Linked DNA regions of Homo sapiens: all the other regions are linked to region 2. Evidence: promoter capture Hi-C in 16 types of primary human blood cells and fetal thymus (Javierre and others, 2016). All regions are on one chromosome and are shown on one strand. The core of a region is centred on a gene start or on the middle of the fragment in contact, and the rest is flanking DNA. Distances in the headings are between cores, read along the strand shown. Region 1 overlaps CEP128 (centrosomal protein 128). Region 2 holds the start of DIO2-AS1 (DIO2 antisense RNA 1). Region 3 overlaps CEP128 (centrosomal protein 128).

Region 1 (3,754 bases), core at 1,089-3,588, 660 kb after region 2:
CACAAAACAAGTCTTAACATATTTAAGAAAATAAGTGTCCCTTTAGATCACAGTGGTATAAAACTAGATATAAATGAATAGGAAAATTCACTAATATGTGGAAATTAAACTACACAATTCTGAACAATCAATGGGTCAAATAAAAAATTTAAAAGAAAATGAAAAAATTCCTTGATACAAATGTGAACAGAAATACAATACACCAAAACTTATGGGATGCAAAAAAGCAGTTCTAAGAGGGAGTTTTATGGCAATAAATGCCTACATTTAGAAAAAGATCTCAAATAAATAACCTAACTATACCTCAAGAAACTAAAAAACAAAATTAAACTAAACTAAGCCACTGTCAATAGAAGAAAGGAAATCACAAAGATTGCAGCAAAAATAAATGAAATAGACTAGAAAAACAATAGAAAAGATCCATGAAACTAACAGTTGTTTGGGTAAACTTTTATTTTAGGTTCAGGGGTACATGGGCAGGTTTGTTACATAGGTAAACTTGTGTCACAGAGGTTTGTTGTACAGATTATTTCTTCACCCAGGTATTAAGCCTAGTACCCAGGAGTTATTTTTTTCTGCTTAAAGTTAGTTTTTTGAAAAGATAAAGAAAACTGACAAAATGCTAGCTAGACTGAATAAGGAAAAAAAGAGTAATGACTCAAGTCAATAAAATCAAAAGTAAAAGAGGAGACATTACAAATGATACCACAAAAATACAAAGTCTTATAAGAAAATACTATGAACAATTTTATGCCAACAAATTGGATAACCTAGGAGAAATGGGTAAATTCCTAAAAACCTACAACTTACCAAGACTGAGTCACAAAGAAACAGAAAATCCAAACAAACCAATAATGAGTAAGGTGATTGAATCAGTAATCAAAGACCTCCCAACAAAGAAAAGCCCAGAACCTGATTACTTCACAGGTAAAATCTACCAAACATGTAAAGAAAAGCTAATGCCAATCCTTCTCAAGCTCTTCCAAAAAACTGAAGATAAGAGAACATGTCCAACCTCATCCTATGAGGCCAGCAGTACCATGAGACCAAAGACACTACTAAAAAAGATAATTACAAGCCAATATCCCCGATGAACACAGATGTAAAAATCCTCTGCAAAATACTAGCAAACCAAATTCAGTAGCACATTAAAAGAATCATTACACCAATCATTACACCATGATCACTTAGTATTTATCCCCAGAATACAAAGCTGCAAATCAATAAGTGTAACATACCATATTAACAGAATAAAGAATAAAAATCATATGGTCTTCTCCATAGATGCAGAAAAAGCATTTAATATAATTCAACATCCTTTCATGATAAAAAGAGAAACTTCCAATAAATTAGACATAGAATGAGTTTATTTTAGCATAATAAAGGCCATATACAACAAGCCAACAGCTAACATAGTACTCAACAGTAAAAATCTAAAAGCTTTTTCCCTAAGATCAGAAAAAGCCACGGATGCCCAGTATGAACACTTCCATTCAACGTAGTACTGAAGGTCCTGGCCAAAGCAAGTATGCAAGAAAAAGAAATAAAAGGCATCTAGATGAGGAAGGAAGAAGTCAAATTGTCCCTGTTTTCAGATGACATGATCTTATATACAGAAAGCCCTAAAGAGGCCCCTAAAAAAAACTGTTAGAAGTAATAAACAAATTCAGTAAAGTTGCAGAAATCAAAATTAAACATACAAGAATCAGCAGCATTTCTATACATAACAACTCAAAAAAAAAAAGTCCTGTTCACTATAGCACCCAAAAAATACGAAGAAATAAATTTACCTAAGGTGATGAAAGATTTGTACTCTGAAAATAAAAAAAATTAAAGAAAGAGGAAGTCAGCAATGTAAAATCTTGGTAAAAGAAAATAGCCAGTGGAAAAAAAAATCAAGATATACAGAGAAAGCCACATAACGTAGGCACTATAGACCATGGTAAAGAATTTGGAACGAAAGAAACCCAGGTAGGATTTTTAAACCTGGAGGAATAATTAAACATAATGACAATTTAAAAAAATAATTTGCCTGCAGTGAGAAGCACAGATAAAGGCAGGTATGGGAGCAGAGGGACCAACTTCATTGGATGCCACTGCAGTAAACCCACTGAGAAGAGATGGTAGCTTGAAAAGTAGTATTAGAAGTAGATGGAATTGAGCAAGATTTCAGAAATTAAAGGGACAGGATTTTGTAATGGATTGGAAGTATGGTGTAAAGAAATGGATCTAGATGAATCCTTGGTGACCAGCTTAACGTGCTGGATGGAATATGATGCCATTTCCTGAGACAGTGAAGACCAAAGTAAGTAAAAACAACCCTAAATGAAGGTTGTGGACCTTAACCTAAAGACATATATTTATAGCTTTTGAGTGATGACATAATTCCTAATAATAAGAATTATTTTAAAGAAAGTATATTTTAGAACTTCTTTATTTTTTCTTTCTCTGAGACCTAAGGGAAAAATATTAGAAATGTAATCCAATACTAAAAAATTCATATTTACCAGAATACCATTATCAACTAAGTTTAAGACTAGAATACCAAAAATTCCTAAATCTCCATATTTGGTTATAAAAATAGCAAAATAACAAGAATAAAAATTAGAATGGCTTTTAAGATTAGTATTTAATGAAAGGTCAAACAAAAGAAAAAGCATTCTGTTTAAAAGATGGTATTCTCGCTTTTCAATATGTTGATTCCTCAGATCTTTAACAATACCTGGTGCTTCAAAGTCCACTTAAATAAATATGTTATATATCCTGCTGCTGTGATCTATGCAATAATCCTGTTATTCTAAATGCAGTATTGACAGAATTCTTATAAACTCTATTAATGGTCAACCCTTCCAGAAACAGCTGGATCCATGTTTACATTTTTATTTTTAATAGTGATCCTCCTATAGAAAACTAAAATAGAATTGACTTTTTCCTCCAAAAATAATCAAATAACATGCAGTCATATCACACTCAGCTCAATAAAATCTAGACAACTAATAAACTGAAATTTCCCATATGGTATAAGGCCTATGCAATATTGATTGCGTATCACCACAATTAAGTGTTAATAGAAAATATTTTCCATGACATCATACTATAAACAATAACTCTTCCCTTCCAATGGACAATTTGACATTAGCAAAAAATATTTATGATTCACAAAAGATTAACACATCAAATACTGACATATATGACAGCAACCACAACTTTTTGTCTCTCAAAGAAAAATGTGTTCCATAAGCTTTCAAGATATATTTTAGTCACTGAGAAAATGCATGATAAACAACTGTAGCCTCAGAATAATACACAATAAACGTGATTAAGAGGGCTTACCAGTAGAAAGTGAAATTGGCAAGAAATAGGGGCAGCATTTATTTTCACTTTATGTATGTACAATATTTAAGTTTGCCACAGTGAAGGTGCATCATTTTGGTAATTTTATTTTAAACTTAAATCTGAAGCAGGGGAAACAGCTGCAGTCTCTGAGAAGCTTAACACTCAAATAATGAAACCATCTTCTCTGACAGCAGGTTATGAATTCACAAATACAACACAATACATCGACCAGTTATAAAACATAAATGTTGACTTCAATTGGAATGAGTCACAAAGTCTATATTAAGCCCTGGAAACAAACATCATGTGGCCTTCAGAAGACCTTCTTAATTCCAACAATGTTATTATTAAGTTTCACTTTGGACATTTTTTTCTTAATCAGGACTATACACACCCATAAGAAATTTGAGATGCCCTT
Region 2 (3,317 bases), core at 114-2,613:
CCTGGCTTCTATATTCCTCTAAAATACAGATGTACAGTTGCTTTTTCTGGCATCTTGGGCAAGGTCCCACAACACTTTTAGGGAAACCAAGATTGTCTATTTTGATAACTACTTTTGCCAAAATAGTTCATTCTTCTCAAGCCTGGTTGAGGGGGTGGAGGGGACCTTTAGAAGTCATATGGGCATAGCAGGTGGGGGAAAACTGACAAAAGACCAGGGCGAAAATCATCCTCTGTGCCCCTGAAGATCTTAGTTGAAAATGCTCTACTAACATCTCTCACCAGCAAAAAGCCTGGAACACAGTATTTTTCACTTAGAAACTAAGATCACTACCTCTGATTTTGAGAGAGCAGCCCCTGGGCACTACCTGAGCAGGTAAGGGAGACCACTGCTCTAATGCTCATAACAGCTCTGAGATTTAATGAATCACAGACCCATCATCTCTTTCTAGGGCAACGTATTTTATTTTTGAGAAACAAAGTAAAGGAGGCTTCCCTTACAAATGCTGGATTTCTGACAGCTAGTTTTCAGACTTTTCTTTCGCAAGTTGATATCTAGTAACTCAGGATCACTGCCTGAAAATCGCTTCCAAAGGGTTCAAATTTGAATCAATGTAGAGGAGGTGGCACACAGCTGCTTGCTTTCATTAACTCTTACCTCTACCAGAAACCAAGCAGCTATGATGCCCAATCACAATTTCTATGACCACTTTCTTATCTTGTCAACTCTCTGAGAGTTCTGAGTAGCATTTCTCATTTCTTGCTTTTCAGTACCCACCCCTCGAACATACTTCCTCAGTGTACCTCAGCCTCCCATCAAGCAAAAAATCAAAATTCCAGTTTATGGCAAGAGCAGAATAAATGCAGCAGTCTCCTCTTCTCCATCATTTTCTGACTTTTCCCAAGTTATCGTACCAGCACAATGCCTTCTACTCCCAAATCACAGCAAGATATTAATAACCCTTAGTAGAAAGATTCCTTATTAGGTCACACAGAGTCATTATGGCTTAATAGCTGTCACCCTCCCAAGCTAACCTGTGCAACAGGTGTGGAAAGTAAACTTAGAGGCTCACTTGGCAACCCCACAAATAGGGCTTCACAGCTCTCCCCCCAATGCTCCCAATGGCCTCTGGTCCCCAGCATATGAGCCCCTGCCCCTGTAGACCTAGGGAGAAGCCCTTCTCAGCTCAGCTCACCTGTTTGTAGGCATCGAGGAGGAAGCTCTTCCAGACGCAGCGCAGTCCCTCTGAGGTCAGCATGCGCCGCCACTCTCCGCGAGTGGACTTGGAGCGGCTCAACAGCAGCACCACGTGCTTGAGCAGAATGACCGAGTCATAGAGAGCCAGGAAGAGGCAGTTGGAGAAAAAAACTGGCAGAATTTGCAGTGTGATCAGCAAGTCTACGCTGAGGATGCCCATCTTCTCTGCCTCCTGAGTCAGTTCCCTTGTGCGCTCTGGTTCCCCTTCACCCTCTTATTTAAAAGGGGGGTGGTGATAAAGGGGGTGGGGGAGGTAAGGGGGAAGGTTGGGGGTTGGGGGAGAAGGGGAAAAAAAACTAAATTAAAAGGAAGCCCAAGTTGTCTCCTCTTTCAAAGAAGCAGAAATGGCAAGACTAAGTCCAGTCTCTCCAGCCCAGCAGTTGGAGTGTGCCCATCAATTCATTCAATTCGGAGCTGCTGCCTTTTTTTTTTTTTTTTTTTTTTTTTCAGGATTTAAGATGTTAAAAAAAAAAAAAAAAAAAAAAAAAAAAAGCTGGCGTACTCGTCCCTAATCCAGTTACCTCTGTCAGAGTCCGTTAAAGACAGGCAGTTCTACTTTCATTTCCAAGCACCTATGAGACTGTGGCAGAGATTTTAAAATTTTCTTTAGCCTTTCATTGTCTCTATGCTCTTTAAACGTAGCCTGTTTCTTTCTTGAATTGCCAGAGTTTTTTTTTTTTTTAAATGTGCTTTAAGGGTAGTTTTTTTTTTTTCTTTCTTTACTCCGTTTTACACACACTTTCTGTGCTTCTCTTTCTCCCAGTCTCACTCTCTCCCTTCCCCAGGAGCGACTGACTCCTCTTTTTTCTCACTCTCTGTCTTTCCCTTCTTGCTATCTGTCTGTGGTGCAAAGTGCCTCTCTCTGCAGCCCAGTGAGTCTCCCTGACGCCTTTTATACATTCCCTGGCTAATTGCTGCAATAGAGAAGTGAAAGCCTAATCTTGGTAAAGATCTTGACGTCATTGAGAAAGAGGGCTTTACTTTGGCCAGGATTGCAGTGAATAGAAAAGCAAAACTCGACAACTTTTTTTTTTTAGAAGGGGTTGGGGAGAGACAGTGGAATTTTGCTTTGTGATTTAAAGAGAGAAAAAAACTAATACCCTTGACAGCCTTCAGGAAATGCTTCCAAACTTTGGGAAAAGTAATTTAATATAATGTGCAGATTGATATGGCCAACACTCTCTCTTCTGATTATCATTATCATTAATTTATGAGGGGTTTTGGAAAGAAAGGATCCTGGAAGGCAGGTAGAAAAAAGGAAGAGTTATCACAGGCGGTCTTTGCTCTGTTTCTTGGAAAATATGAACATTTATATACAATCTTTATACCTTTATACCATGACTCCAACCCTTTGTAAGATCTGTGACCTAGGTCCTTTAAATTTTTTTGAGTCATTATCTTATTTAAGAAAATGCAAAATGAGTTGTAGGTGGAAAACTTGTAAACTATTTGAGTACCATCCCAGCATTTCTTTAAAGCTTCTTGCAGAAACTTGAATACAGGTTTCTTTTTAGTTTTACCCAAGCTTCTAATGAAAAAAAAAAAAAAAATCCAAGTTCCTCCAGACAGGGAAGGAGCTAGGCGACATTCTTTTAGCTTCATTTTGCAGATAAAATTAAAACTTTCCATTGAATAGCATTAAGAAGCCATAAGGCTGAGAAATTATTAATGAAAGCTCTTTAAATTTGGTGTTTCACCTGCTTCTGTTAGCATAACCCCTAAGAGACCTGATACTTTAAGGAATCTTCCTTTTTGTTTGAAAAAAATTTTAATTAAATGTATGGGAAGTTAAGAGCCGACTGAATTGGTTCAAGGTGCCACATTGACCATTGTTCATTGGCTTGCCTCTCCCATGAGTCTTTAGGACAGGTATTTAGGCAGACAATGCTTTGGCAGAATGGCATGACCCCCACTTTATTCTACTTTTTCATCCTGTGTTACCTAATAGATCACTGAGTTTTCTCAGTGATAGATACTGAGTTTTAGATACTGGGTAATAGATAGCTGAGTTTTCTATGTAGCCAGAGCTTAGGCATAAGCTAAGCAGTAGGTGCAAGCTT
Region 3 (3,341 bases), core at 624-3,123, 630 kb after region 2:
TCCAGGTTAATCTCCTTCCAAGCATAGTGGAACGGTTTCCTGCTCCATTTCCTCATTCCTCTCATCTCTTCCACAAAGAATAAATGAATGGCTTTTCCTTCTCTGTGTCCACTGAGGCAAAGAATGGAATGTGACTAGATTTTTTTTTTCATCACTTATTTTGTCCTCAGTCTACTCCATTACTATTAACCCAAATCAACTTCAATTAAGTATTATACTTCTTATATTTTTCAATTTTCACCCATTTGCTTTCATGTGAACATGGTCTATTGGTTGTTAAATTCAAGATAAATGATCATGATTTAGCATATTTTGATACTAAAATCATGCTCAAAATAAGTATGTAATAGATGCTGTTGAATAAACTCTAAACTCCTTGAAGTCAGAAACTGATTTGTTTATCTTTCTATCCTTAGACTGCCAAATTACCTAGCACATAGCAGGTACTTCCAAATGAACATTAAACAAGTTAACAGTGGCAAAAAGATTCAGCTAAAATCACAATGACAATCTAAACAAAGAAATCTCTTGCTTCCATAACTGAAACTGGAGATTATAAGTTAGAGTTCCAAACAAATCAGAACGGAATTAAATACAAATATAAACTTCCAAAAAGGAAAGTTTGAACTCTGCCAAAATTAATTCCATGTGACCACTGGCTGCAGAACAAAGTCAGCGAATATTTTCAAAGGTTTTGTAAAACAGGTGCTATCTTGTATTTTCAGCACCAATTGTCAGAATGTAATACTCCTTCTGAACATCTATAATGCTTGACATCTTTGCTTACCCTTAGCATATTCTGAAGGTGTGTTATATAACATACACTTCAAAACAGAAGAAAGTATAATTGCAGTTTGTATTAAACACAGACAGGCAGTTAGAAACCCATATGCCCTTATCCAATGTATGTAAGATGGTTATTTAAAGTTACTGAACTTTAAACATCAGAAGCGCCAAACTCCCATTATGGGCTGATGGAATGCAAAACGTTATACTTTAAAATTAAGCCTTATCGGCCGGGCGTGGTGGCTCACACCTATAATCCCAGCACTTTGGGAGGCCGAGGTGGGGAATCACGAAGTCAGGAGATCGAGAACATCCTGGCCAACATGGTGAAACCCCATCTTTCCTAAAAAAACAAAACATTAGCCAGGTGTGGTGGCGCATGCCTGTAATCCCAGCTACTGGGAGGCTGAGGCAGGAGAATCGCTTGAACCCGGGAGGCTGAGGTTGTGGTGAGCCAAGATTGCGCCACTGCACTCCAGCCTGGCAACAGAGCGAGACTGCGTCTCAAAAAAAATAAAATAAAATTACCCTTATCTTTGGTTTAAAAGGGTCAAGTAGTATCTTGAAAACATGAATTAAAGACAATGACGTTATTCAAAGTAACCTAAACATGCAAAGGTCTGCTGCATGTAGTTTACTTCTTCCTTTACTTCCCAGTGCCTCCTGGAATAAAATTAAGCTCCTGGGAAAATTTTATCTTATACATTCAGTCTTACTTTTACACTGCTCATGCTAAGACAGATAAGTAGTAAGTTGTAGCAGCAATCAGCAAGATACACCATCACAGTGGGGACTCTGGCTGGTGTTTGTACTAGCTTTCTCTGAATTTCCCTGAAAGAATTTTATCCTTTGCTTAGGTGTGCTAATATACATTCCTTAGGAAAACATTTTTTCTAGACCTAGTTCTTTTTTTTCCTTTCACAAAGACATTTAAATAGAGCTACTCAATCCTGATTTAATGTAAAAGTATATTATAATAACTTGCATAGACTTACCTGATGCAAAAGTGTTTCTCGGCTGCCTTCTGATTGATTCAATAACCTTCGAGATAGCTCCAATTCCTGTTCAAGCTAGAGTTTCAACAAAGGATAAAGAAAAATGCCCAATGGAGCAGAAGATAACTAAATTATTATGGGCACAGTTTAAAAGGAGAAAAGTGGAAAAGTTTTCAGAAGACATTTACAGCTAATATAAAAGAATAAATATCTCACTATGAACATATATCAATACTTCCATTAAAATAATGTGAATCGTATAACATAAAGTGAACCAGACCAGGCCTCAGGAAGTCTGGGATCTAGTAAGTTTCATCTCAACTGTGAGCCAGTCCAAGTCTCTCCTCCTCTGGCCTCCATTCTATCATCTCTAAAATAAGTATTTTATATTAAACAGTCTCCAAGATCCCTTCCAGTTCTAAATCTCTTTAATCTAAATTCTAAGGCAATTTTTTTCTTTAAATTAGAATACACAGTGTCAAATTAACTAAAGTAGAATAAAAACTGCAGGGACCCAATAACTCAAAAGTTTCATCTAATTGGTGATTTCCTACATTCCTAATATTTCTAATATTTATAAGACATTCCTTAAATTTTTAGATGTCTAAATTCAGAATGAGACATTTAAAATTTCCTTAATGATACTGCCATTAGATAAATATCGATAAAAAATGTGACCAGTTCAGGAGATCAAGACCATCCTGGCTAACACGGTGAAACCCCATCTCTACTAAAAATACAAAAAATTAGTCAGGCATGGTGGCAGACACCCGTAATCCCAGCTACTCGGGAGGCTGAGGCAGAAGAATGGCGTGAACCTGGGAGGCAGAGCTTGCAGTGAGCCGAAATCGCGCCACTGCACTCCAGCCTGGGCAACAGAGCGAGACTCCGTCTCAAAAAAATGTGACCAGTTAAGTGACTAAATATTCTACAAACTCCTAACATGCCTAGATGATTTCAAGTTGAAATATGTAATAGGATAGAACACAAGTTTCTTAACAATTTAGAGCTTATATGTGCTAGACTTGTTTGCATTCTGTAACAGTAAGATAGTTTTATAAAAATCACACATTTATATTAAGATGCTTGTAAGTGCTTAGATTTGTAACACTTATCCTAAATTATCATTTCAGTTGAACAACTGCTATCTGTATATTAATCATTTAATAACTGTACATGTGGTAGGTGTGCCTATGAAAGAACATGAGGGAGCCTTGTGGTGATAGAACAGTTCTGTATCCTGACGGTGGTAGTGGTAACAAGAATCTATACAAGATAAAAATGGACTGAACTTCACACAAACACACACACACACACACAAATACAAATGAGTTATATATATAAAGCTGGTGAAATCTGTATAAACTAAGTAGATTGTACCAACACCAATTTCCTGGTTTTGATATTGAATGGCAATTATGCAAAATGTTACCATTGAGGCAAATTGGGTGCATGGGACCTCTCTGTGCATCTTGTTTTACAATATCCTATAAATCTATAATTATTTCAAAATATATCTTTAAATCCCAATATATAATTTTTTAAAAATTATACATGTGG

Evidence for each region. Contacts are between HindIII fragments. The CHiCAGO score rates a contact against its expected background, and 5 or more counts as called.
Region 1: a contact is called between a fragment that was not itself captured here and the fragment with the promoter of DIO2-AS1 in region 2, in 1 of 17 cell types (endothelial precursors). The highest score is 5.4, in endothelial precursors.
Region 3: a fragment that was not itself captured here is called in contact with the fragment with the promoter of DIO2-AS1 in region 2 in 1 of 17 cell types (endothelial precursors); the score reaches 5.1 in endothelial precursors.

What each region holds. Positions count from the first base shown.
Region 1 is chr14:80,869,225-80,872,978 of GRCh38, forward strand. The region is part of intron 8 of CEP128 (centrosomal protein 128); the gene reads right to left. Among named protein-coding and RNA genes, the nearest start is that of CEP128, 71 kb to the right of the region's middle. The HindIII fragment of the contact is 1,801 bases long and covers 1,439-3,239 here.
Region 2 is chr14:80,210,056-80,213,372 of GRCh38, forward strand. It overlaps DIO2-AS1 (DIO2 antisense RNA 1), which reads left to right and starts at 1,364. Exons shown (of 9, transcript NR_038355.1): 1 at 1,364-1,433. It overlaps DIO2 (iodothyronine deiodinase 2), which reads right to left and starts at 1,449. Exons shown (of 2, transcript NM_013989.5): 1 at 1,196-1,449. The coding sequence starts at 1,417. The HindIII fragment of the contact is 6,513 bases long and covers 1-2,733 here.
Region 3 is chr14:80,836,423-80,839,763 of GRCh38, forward strand. It overlaps CEP128 (centrosomal protein 128), which reads right to left. Exons shown (of 25, transcript NM_152446.5): 11 at 1,782-1,856. Among named protein-coding and RNA genes, the nearest start is that of CEP128, 100 kb to the right of the region's middle. The HindIII fragment of the contact is 6,066 bases long and covers 1-3,341 here.